3 separate regions of the Homo sapiens genome follow, and all the other regions are linked to region 2. Evidence: promoter capture Hi-C in 16 types of primary human blood cells and fetal thymus (Javierre and others, 2016). All regions are on one chromosome and are shown on one strand. The core of a region is centred on a gene start or on the middle of the fragment in contact, and the rest is flanking DNA. Distances in the headings are between cores, read along the strand shown.

Region 1 (3,777 bases), core at 1,191-3,690, 550 kb before region 2:
CCCAGGCCATGCCCAAGCTCTCCTGCTTATTATCTCCGTGACCGAAGCGGAGTTATTTAGCTCTATGAGCCTCCATCTACCCAACTGTTAAATGGACGTAACAAAGCATGCTTTTCAAGATAGATGCCTGGGGCACATAGTAGATGCTGAACAGGGTTCCTGAACATTCCAAATGACAGAAGAATGTCCACATTGTATGAGAGAAAAAAAACAGAGGCAGATCTTATATCTCTGAACGCCCCCAGCTGGAAAGAGGGCATCCCCCGTTAACTCTGGGCCGCTCACCTACCTGTTAATGACAGCTTGGTCCTCAGGGAGGCGGAAGACTCTGGGTCTAGGGTTTCCTTCCTGAGGTTTTGGAGTCACACTTCCTATCTCAACAAAACCAAAGCCCATCTTATAAAGTCCGTCCACGGCTTCCCCATGCTTGTCAAATCCTGCAGCAATTCCTACTGGATTTCGGAATTTATGGCCCAGAACTCTCACTTCCTGGGAAGAGGAAGACAAAGTCAGAGGCACGCTAAGGCTATCCCGGTATTTCTCAAAGCATGGTTCCTGGCACAGCTACATCAGAATGACCTGGGAAGCTTGTGAAACCTCAGATCCCAGGGCCCACCCCCAAGGTCAAAATCTTTGGGGGTGGAATGGAGCACTGGGGGAACTATTTTTAACAGTGCTGGCTCTCCAGGGGACTGTGACACCAGCTAGAGTTTGAAAACCACGGGGCTTTATTATTAGCAAGCCTGGGGGGAGAAATGGTGTTTCCACCGTGGGTTGAAGCGGAGACGAGCACTGTCTTTTCCAATTGTGGTTAAGGTTCATACCTTCTTATCAACTAGCCTTGGTGGGAGGGAGTAGCTCGCTGGTGTCAGGCCCTAGATAGTGCTTCCCTGAAACCAAGGCGTGTCAAGCAGCAAAACCCTTTAATCAGCTTAATAAACATCAGCTCCAGCTGTGTCCCTCCTCATCCGGGCTGGCAAGAAGCCCCAGCCACGTCCCCCAGCCTCCCACGGGGAACCAGAGGAAGGAAGATGTTCAGCTGGGCAGAACTGACTGATGGGCTCCAGCGACCTTTCAGGAGACTAGCAAAGGCCTCCCGGGGTGAACACGGTCGGATCCTGGAAGCAGGGGATTAAGAGAGATGCTCCAAGAAGGAAGAGCAACAAATGAAGGTGAGAATGCTCACAGCACCTCAGGAGACTGGTAGGCAAGATGTGTAGGGGCCTTCCTCCAGGACCGTGGTTCTCAGCTCCAGCTGCACCACAAAGGCCCCTGGCAGCTTTCAGGTCCTGCTCTCAGATGTGGCGGTGAAACTGGTCTGGCACCAGGCCAGGGCATCTGAATATTCCAAGTGCACCCCCGGGGGATTCTAACATGCCTGACATAGGTGAAGGGTGGAGAGCCAAACCAGGAAAGTTGTGAAATCAAGAATCCTGGTTACCGGTTAAAAAGTCTGAGTCACATTCTAAATGAGCTGCTGCAAGTGTGGGCCCACGCAGAGGTGTTGAGGACAACACCTCAGAGGTCAGGTTTGCCTGTCTCTGTCATCTGTGTTTATACAGACACAGCTTGCACCCTCAGGCACCCCGCACTTCCTTCTAAATTCACCCCATCTCTGCACCCCACTCATTATTCACTCCCATTTTACACTGGTTCCAGGGCTCTCAAACTAGCAGTCTGAGGTGAGGACACCTTAACGGAGTGCTCTTTCTGAGCCTACAGTGCCTGTTAGTGTGTGAGCATGGCCAGTCAGGGGAAATGACACGTCTGCTCAACACCATATAATCAGATAGTGAAGAGGAGTCTAAGGTAGGAAGAGAAAATGCGGTGAAGGCCCCTTTAATTTATAACAGTGACCCTTCCCACCAGAGTTCTGAGGGCTTCTTGTTTGCATTTTCACACTCATCATTCTGATGTCCTCCCATTTGGTAAGAAGCCTCTCGAAAGGAAACTGCCAAGGCTTCCATGAGGAAGCAGCTTCCATGAGGATGGGGACTCTTTTATTCGGTTTGCTGCACTAAGCCCGGAAGGTCACATGAAACAGAGGCCCTTAGCCTTCCGCTGACACTGGCCTCTGCAGTCAGAGGCTGTATCTACACTTCTGCCTACACACCCTCTTCCTGCCCTAGAGGCTTTCCTGGGACTCTAGGCCAAAGATTTCAAGCATATGGAGAGGGCCCGTGTGCTGAACACGTGGCTGAGTGAGGCTGGGACACGATGCTCCTGCCTCTCACCAGTGCTTAATGACTCTGGCAGCTTCCCCATTTAGCTGAGGGGAAGACTGAGCTACCCACGACCTCAGCAAGGCAGGACAGTGGCCAAGGGGCGGGAAGCCAGCGTCAGACTCTGTGGGTTTGAATCCTGGTCCTGCTACCTCCTAGCTGTGTGACTTGAGTTCCTTTATGTTGCTAATCTGTTCCTCAGTTTCCTGATCCATGGCTGGGGATGGTAACAGGATCCAGCTCATGGAGCAGCTGGGAGGATCAAACAAGAACACCGCCTAACACAATCCCATATACGTAATAGATAATCATCGTTGCTAATTACATGACATAAAATAATAATGCTCAGACTGAATTCCAAATCCCCACTGCTCACTTGGGGTTCTGGTTTTCAAAAAGATCAGTCCCAGCTGAGAAGTTTAGGGGACTGCAGCCTTCGCCTTTGTATTTAATGTATAGGGTGTCTGGGAGCACTACCAGCATGTCAGAGTCTTGAAATCTGGCCCGTGGAAGGAGCCCCAGGGAGGTGAAGCGAACAGCCAGTCTGTGGGCTGACTCCGGGTCCAGCAGCCCCTGCAGAGTCGGCATCAGGTGTTCAGCATAGAAACGCTCATCTCCCGTGGCCATCAGGTAGGAGGCGAAGAGAAGTCCTCCTCCCCCCAGGATGATCACAGCATCCTGGGCCCGCTTCTGCAAAAAAGAGCATATTAGGGGGGTCCCCCAGGCCAGGCTGCAGCACCCTTCCTGAGCCCTTCACACCCAGGTACACAGAGGGCATAACGGCAGGTCACATGAAACAGACGCCCTTAGCCTTCCGCTGACACTGGTCTCTACAGTCAGAGGCTGTATCTATACTTCTGCCTACACACCTTCTTCAGGCCCTAAAGGCTGTCCTGGGACTCCAGGCCAGAAATTTAAAGAGGGACAGTACTGTCCCCTAGGGTGATCGTGGTGGACACTGCTACTGGTTACAGTGACAGGGTAATGCTAATAGATGTGGTGGGCAGGAATCCATAAAGTCAGACATCCTTCTTGGCTTGAGACTATCTGACATGAACTGCCCCATTTCCTGTGTGACTTTTGAACATTCTGACATTTGTGTGGGTAAAAATTATCCGTTCATATTATCTAAGCCAAACTATATTTTACCACATAAACACAAACTGTCTTTCCTGACCTCCTGGTCTCAAGCAATCCTCCCCTCCTCAGCCTCCCCAAGTAACTGGGACCACAGGCACATGCCACCAAGCCCAGCCAATTTTTTGAAGAGATAGAGCCTCTTTATGTTGCCCAGGCTGGTCTTGAACCCTTAGGCTCAAGCAGTACTCCTGCTTTGGCCTCCCAAAGTGCTGGGATTACAGGCATGAGCCACCGTGCCCAGCCTCTACATGGTTTTCACATACAGTACAAATATCTTGTAAATTGAGGGACAACTGTACAGTTTCACATAGAACATTCCCAAGAATTGTTCACCATTTCAGAAAATCTCATCGGGAATGGTACAGTGCTTTCCTGGGGTGCCTGATATGTAACACACCTGTGTACCTGCATTTCT
Region 2 (3,605 bases), core at 405-2,904:
AAGAGCAACGTAATCCCCAGCTATTACTCTGCCCAATCATTTTCTTAATGAACTCATTTTGGAAAACAGTGAAGATCAGGGTCAGGGCAAGGCAGAGAAGGGCACCTGGCCATGGTCACTGTCAAGGTCCAAGGCATAAGACATATCCTACCCTTGGGGACACACAAAGTAGGCTTCTGCCTAAGAGTTAGGGCTGGAGCCTTTGGACCATTGTCAACAACAAATGTTTATTGCTCTCCTTCTTTCTGCCAGTTATTCTCTAGCTGAGGATGATGATGTTGAACAAGATAGATACAGTGTCTGTTCCCTGCAGCCACCAGAGAAGACAGACATATAAATAAACTATCACCATTAAGTAAGTACACAGTGCTGTGATGGCACATAAATGAGTGTCCTGCCTTATTCTGGGTGATGAGGGAAGGCTTGCTTCCCATGCAAAATGGGATTTGAGCTCACACTTCCAGTAACAGTCAAGATGGAGGGTAGGAATGGGAAGGGAAGGGCATTCTAGATTTAGAGAACAGCATTTTTAGCATGTAGGGCTGAGGTAGAGTCAGGGAATGAATGGGAGTGATAAGAAGCCACAGAGGCAAGTGGGAGCCAAATACCAGTCTCCAGTGCAGCAGCGTTGGATGGATCAGAGCTGGAAGGAAGAAAAGCCCACATTACCAGGGTTAGGGGGTGTGTGAGGGGGTGGGGATTTTAAGGGTCGTCCAATCCAGTGGCATTTAGTACTGTCTCCCTTCCCCCAGGGCTCATTTTGGAATTTTATGGTAGGTATTTTGTTATATTTGGTGTCAGTGGTAACATTGCTACTAGCGTTGTGGATAGGAGCCAGGATCCTGCAATGTACAGGACAGTCCTGCCCACTGAAAAAATGTTCACACTTTCAAATGTCTTGCTGAACATTCAGGTAGGTGAAAATTCTATTTCTAAATTATCTGAATCTAAACCTGTTTTCTGGATAAACATGTATTTTTGCACAGTTTTAACATACACTGATCTTCCAGGAATGTAATTATTGTATAATCAAGAGACGATTGTCCTGTGTTTCATTCAGAACTTCACGAAAACATGTTTGCCATTTTGGATCATAATTTTGTGACTTTTGCAACAATGTAAGTCACAGCTTTGTGGCTGTGGCACTCAGACAACGTCTATGTGTAAAGGCGACCACCTTATTAGGTCTCCTGCAGCAGCCAAGACCAAACACATTGAAGTATGTGTTTTTAAACGACAGATGACGGTCCTCTTTTTTTTCTCTTTCATTACACTTAAGGCATAACATTAGTTTTTAATATGTAGGTGTGTATGTTATGTATGATTTTCTAGGCCATTATATATGAATATCAGGTCAGGAGAATAAGATGGACATTACAAACTATTTGTTAGAAAAAGGGGGCATTGGGTGTGACAGCGCGCCATCCACTGGTCCATTTCCAAGACTCCCACACGTGGCTGCACCTGCAGCTTCACCTCCCCGGGCTGGGTCCCCGCTTGGCTCTGATTCTTACCTGCCCCATTCCCCAGGGGTAACAGTCACCGTGGGCCAGACCCGAGCTAGCCGACAGGGATGCGGCCACAGCTGGCCGGGCGTGACCACCACCGAGGCGCAGCGACCTTGCTCCTAGAGAGGCCCGGCCGCCTGGTGACGCACTTCCGGCAGCGCCGGGGAGCAGTCCGCTACGGAGGTGAGTGCAGGGCTCCGGGCGCTGTGTGCCGTGCCCTGTCCCCCAGGCTCTGGGTCCGGTTGAGACGCACTCCCACCCTGGGTGCTGCAGGGTCTCCCGTGGCCTACGCTGCCAGGAGGCCCAGGCTGGGAGAGGGAGCAGGGCGGCGGCCCGGGGTGCTCTTCCGCGCTCCTCGACTCCAGCTTTGGTCTTTGTGGCTCAATAGCTTGCGCCCATTGGAAGGGGAAACGCACGTTGCTGTCCCAGCCACGAGGCCCTGAGCATTTAGCACTTGGTCGACGGGGGAAGATGTGTCGGTGCAGCTAAAAGATGGAATATTTGCGGGCGTGAAGCGGCCCGAGGTGATACCACAAGTCTTTTGACATGCTGAGGTCTGGCAGGAACATTAACCTATGTGCATCCCGAGTATGGACCGTGTGCTCCCAGGCTCCTGACATAGGGTCATGAATTAGGGCCGAGTGGGAGCGCAGAGCCCCTCCCAGTCACCCGGCAGCAGAAGCAGCCCGGCTTTTGGAGGACATTGTCTCCTGGAGCAGTGTCAGTCCCAAAAGGTAACTCAGCCCTGCTTCTCTCGGCTCAGGGTTGACAGTGACCTGGGAATGACTTCTACAACGTAATTACGAATTCACTCAGTTTTAGAATATATTTAGTAGTCTCAGAATCGCTAATTCATACCCCCATGAAAAGCAAATTTACTACCTAAAGTACAGTACTTGGATACAGGTCTTTTTGTCTTTACTCTTATGGTATTTAGTCAAAATACTGTTTTCCAAAGTTGCTTACCCCTTTTCTTTCCTACCACTTAAGTGTGGTTATGTTCACTGTAGTATAGTTAAGCACATTGGCTGTTCTTTGTATTACATTTTGGGTCCTCAATTTCACCCCATCCTTGCTGGTTTATATATTTATTTAAAATATATATTTATATGTTACATATATAGTAGTAAACATCCATGAACACACCACCCAATTAAGAAAGAGAAGATTGCCAGTACTGCTGAATTTATCAATGTGTTCCTCCTCCTCAACCCAACTCCCAGCCTCCAACCCCTAGAGGTAACAGTTATATTGACTTTTGTGTTAATTGTAGCCCTGTTATTTTAAAAAATAATTACATATGCATGTATCTGTAAGCAATGTACTTAAATTTTTTTTTTGAGCTTCATATAAATGGCACCATTGTGTGTATAAGTCATCTGGGACTCGCATAATTCAATGTTAAGTTTCCAAATTCATTCTGTGTGTAGCTTCTGGGTAATGTTCCATTGTAAAAACTGTATGAAAATTTATCGATGTATTTTCAATGGACATGTGGGTTGTTTTCAGTGTTTTGTTATTAAAATGTGCTGATAATATTTTTGTACGTACTTCCTACATATGAGAGTTTCTCTAGTGTGTAAGTTTTTAAAATTAGGCACAAATGTTGAATTATGTTAAACATCTTTGGCATCTGTTGAGATGGACAGTGTGTTTATCTTTCTTTGATTTATTAATGTGAAAAATATACTAATTAGTATCTTCGTGGGATAATCCTACTTACTCATGATGTATTTAATGAACTATTGGAGTCTATTCCTTGATAGAATTTTTGCATTAGAATTCATAAATGAGACTGGTCTGTAGTTTTTGCATCAGTATTGTGCTGGCACCATAAAAAGAATTGGGAAACTTACTTTGCTGTGCTCTGCTACGGTTTACATAGTGTTAGAATTACTCATTTCCGAAACATTGAAAGAATTTGCTCATGACACATCTGAGCTCAGTGTTTTGTGAGAGTTAGTTCTTCACTGGCCATCTTGGTTTAATTAGGTAAAAGTAATCAAGGATTATGTAGAAAATCTATATAATGTCATAACAGGAAAAAACCTGGAATCGTATTTAAAAAAAAAAACTATCCCCTTGGGAGGGAGCCAA
Region 3 (3,532 bases), core at 939-3,438, 630 kb before region 2:
AGTCATAAGCAGGAGGAAATACCACAGAGGTCAGTGATGTAGACACTGAAGCCACACTGCCAAAGTTCAAACCCCAGCCCTACTGCTCAGGAGCTGTGTGACCTGGGGCAAATTACTTTACCTTCCTGTGCCTCAGTTTCCCTATCTATAAAATGGGGACTCTGATAGCATATACCTTATAAGAATGATGTAAGGATTAAATGAGTTAACAAATGTTAAGCACTTAGGACAGTTACCACATAGTAATGTTATATAAGTGTCTGCTACTAATTATCGTGGTTTTCATTTCTGGGAGGATTGGGAGGAAGGAGACGTTAGGGAATTTCAGTATCCACATAACATATTTCTAAGTTGTGTTGTTTTAAATGAGCATGGGCTACTTTTATAAAAGCATTCAAAGAAAGAAATTAAAGGAAGAAATAGATTCACACAGTTTTCCCCAAGGATTTGTATGCTCAGCTCTTAACACGGGATGGCAGCAGTAGAAATGGCGGGTAGAGGTCTTAGTTCTGGGTTAGGTCTCTCTCCACAATGAATAGACAGGAATACTCCCATGCTGTCACCCTCCTAAACTCACACAGTTTTCCCCAAGGTCCCCTTCTAACCTCACACAGTTTTCCCCAAGGTCCCTTCCTAACCTCATACAGTTTTCCCCAAGATTCCCTCCTAACCCCGTTGCAGTGAATGAGACTCTGGAGGATGGGGTTATGCTTTGTCTAATGTGGGAGCCACATGGGCTGCATTGTTGGCCCAGGAGTTTTTTCAAACAAAACACTCTGTTGTAGTAACAAGTTTCACAGAAGAAACATTAAGCTGCCTCTCATATTGTAACCTTTGTCTCTCTCGTCATTTGCAGCTTTCTAAGACCTCTTCTGACTTAAGTAAAATGGCTGCTATATACCTGGTAGATGTGGACCAAACTGCAGTTTATACACAGTATTTTGACATCAGTTATATTCCATCTACTGTCTTTTTCTTCAATGGGCAGCATATGAAAGTGGATTATGGGTAAGTGCAGTTGATCTGAAGTTAATTGCAACCTTGTAAGTTTCCTTGGTAAGCATTTTCAGTAGCTTGCCTATTTCCATGTGATGTTGGCTCTGTGAGTCTTATATCAGTACTGTTTCCCCAATTGACGCACTCTCTAATTTTTTATGCAAAACCTTGCTACAAAATGAGAGTGCTTCTGGTATGATTGTCAAATTTTATTTATTTTTTTAATAGTGCATACACATGGTTTGTCAAATTTTAATTTCCGACTTAAGTATGAAGAAATAGTACAGGTGGCAAAGCACTACCATCCATAAGTCTATAAAATATAAAATAGCCATATTAGCTAAATAAAGAACTCTTAAAATTTTCCCAGGAATTTCATTTGAAACAAAACATGTAGTTTTTCTTAAGCTTTTGGACTGGTAAGTGGCATTTATGAAAGAAACATTCCTTCTAGCAAACTAAGATGTGCTTCTCTCTTGCAAAGTTTCCTGCTTTTCGCCATTGAATTTTAAATCATTCTTCAACAAAGCCTGTCAAGAATAAGTAACATGATGTCCTCTTTAGTGCCTTCCACTCCATCCAATTACCATCTCAATACTTAATATTGATGATTGGGTGCATCCATGATTCTGATCATTTCTTACTGTGGTTGATGTGTCCACTTATCTAGATCTGTGTACCCTTTTTGTCTTTATTTGAAAGTATGTGAAATATTATCTGTTTTAAAGTGTTTTAGGCTGGGCATAGTGGCTCACGCCTGTAATCCCAGCACTTTGGGAGGCCAAGGCAGGCGGATCATTTGAGGTCAGGAGTTCAAAACCAGCATGGCCAACATAGTGAAACCCCATCTCTACTAAAAATACAAAAATTAGCCAGGCATGGCCAGGCGCAGTGGCTCACGCGTGTAATCCCAGCACTTTGGGAAGCCGAGGCAGGCAGATTATGAGGTCAGCAGATCGAGACCATCCTGGCTAACACAGTGAAACCCTGTCTCTACTAAAAATACAAAAAATTAGCTGGGCGTGGTGGCGGGCGCATGTAGTCCCGGCTACTCTGGAGGCTGAGGCAGAAAAATGGCATGAACCCAGGAGGCGGAGCTTGCAGTGAGCCGAGAGCGCGCCACTGCACTCCATCCTGGGCAACAGAGCTGCCGTCTCAAAAAAAAGATTAGCCAGGCATGATGGTGGGTGCCTGTAATCCCAACTACTCAGGAGGCTGAGGCAGGAGATTCGCTTGAGCCCAGGAGGTGGAGGTTGCAGTGAGCAGAGAACGCACCACTACACTCCAGTCTGGTGACAGAGCAAGGCTCCATCGCAAAACAACAACAACAACAACAAAAAAAAAACACAAAAGTATTTTAAAGCTGTTTATTCTACTGGAACACATTTGATGTAAGTATTAATTTGGTACAACCTTTTATGGGGGCCAGTTCAACATTATGTATCAAATAGTTTAAAGTTTTTAAACTTTTTAACCCAGTAATTACACTTCCAGGACTTTAATATGATGTTGCAGATGCACATTTAACAAATGAAAGAAATATATGTCAGCTAGAAAAAAGCATATTACTGAATAATTTGTATGACATAATTCCCAATGTTGGGAAAAAAGAAGTTTGTATCTGCACATACACACACACACACACACACACACACACACACACACACACACAAGATTGGAAGGATAGACACTGAAAAGTGACCTCTGGCCTCATCCGTGATTTTATTTATTTCTTTAAAATTTTTACAGTAACATACCTGGTGTTTGAGATACTTTTCTAAAAAATCAATTTTTTAATACCTACCACTCAAAAGGCCATGAATATTGAATGGGCTTTGCACAATGCCCAGGCAAAAGCAACAACAGCAAACGAAGAAACAATGTGCACTCCAACACTTGGTGAAATCTGCTTGATGATTTGAGAAGTGATAAAAATAGATTTTGTGATTACAATAGCTTTTGAAGCTAAAGCTTTGCACATGACAGAGCTTTCATGCTAGTGGCCCACAGCACTGGGTTGAGTCATTTACTAAATGGAAAAAAATGATTGAAAAATTAATGTTGGGCTTTATTTCTGAAGTCTCATTGACAAGAAGAAAATAACAAAGCTGTTTTTCATTTTGTTTATCCTGAAAGTCTTCAACAAGTGATTACTCAAAGTTCTTAGAGCAGTTGTTTCTCTTCTATGCTGTCTAGATCTCCAGATCACACTAAGTTTGTGGGAAGCTTCAAAACCAAACAAGACTTCATAGATTTGATTGAAGTAATCTATCGAGGAGCAATGAGGGGGAAGCTTATTGTCCAAAGTCCTATTGATCCCAAGAATATTCCCAAATATGACCTTCTCTATCAAGACATTTAGTACATTAATTGCTGTCAAAGATGAAGAAGAAGGCACATCTTGACACAGTACCTGAATCCAGCTGTGCTGTGTTTCTGGAGTCCTTTGGAAACATGTGTCCCAGAGGAGAAGAGGTTTGACTTGCGTGTAGAAAACCCGGCCCCTGAGGAAAAGACCCCACTGGTTCTCTGATGA

Evidence for each region. Contacts are between HindIII fragments. The CHiCAGO score rates a contact against its expected background, and 5 or more counts as called.
Region 1: a fragment that was not itself captured here is called in contact with the fragment with the promoter of ZNF23 in region 2 in 1 of 17 cell types (naive CD4 T cells); the score reaches 5.4 in naive CD4 T cells.
Region 3: a fragment that was not itself captured here is called in contact with the fragment with the promoter of ZNF23 in region 2 in 1 of 17 cell types (total CD8 T cells); the score reaches 5.0 in total CD8 T cells.

What each region holds. Positions count from the first base shown.
Region 1 is chr16:72,011,185-72,014,961 of GRCh38, reverse strand. DHODH (dihydroorotate dehydrogenase (quinone)) reads right to left here. Exons shown (of 9, transcript NM_001361.5): 2 at 2,700-2,912; 3 at 290-489. Among named protein-coding and RNA genes, the nearest start is that of DHODH, 4.3 kb to the right of the region's middle. The HindIII fragment of the contact is 3,701 bases long and covers 590-3,777 here.
Region 2 is chr16:71,460,296-71,463,900 of GRCh38, reverse strand. ZNF23 (zinc finger protein 23) reads left to right here and starts at 1,654. Exons shown (of 5, transcript NM_001381984.1): 1 at 1,654-1,691. It overlaps LOC124903709 (a long non-coding RNA gene), which reads right to left and starts at 1,589. Exons shown (of 2, transcript XR_007065105.1): 1 at 609-1,589. RefSeq lists enhancers at 1,536-1,695, 1,966-2,055. The HindIII fragment of the contact is 7,082 bases long and covers 1-3,605 here.
Region 3 is chr16:72,086,463-72,089,994 of GRCh38, reverse strand. TXNL4B (thioredoxin like 4B) reads left to right here. Exons shown (of 4, transcript NM_017853.3): 3 at 857-1,008; 4 at 3,193-3,532. The coding sequence ends at 3,358. Among named protein-coding and RNA genes, the nearest start is that of TXNL4B, 5.4 kb to the left of the region's middle. The HindIII fragment of the contact is 1,563 bases long and covers 1,407-2,969 here.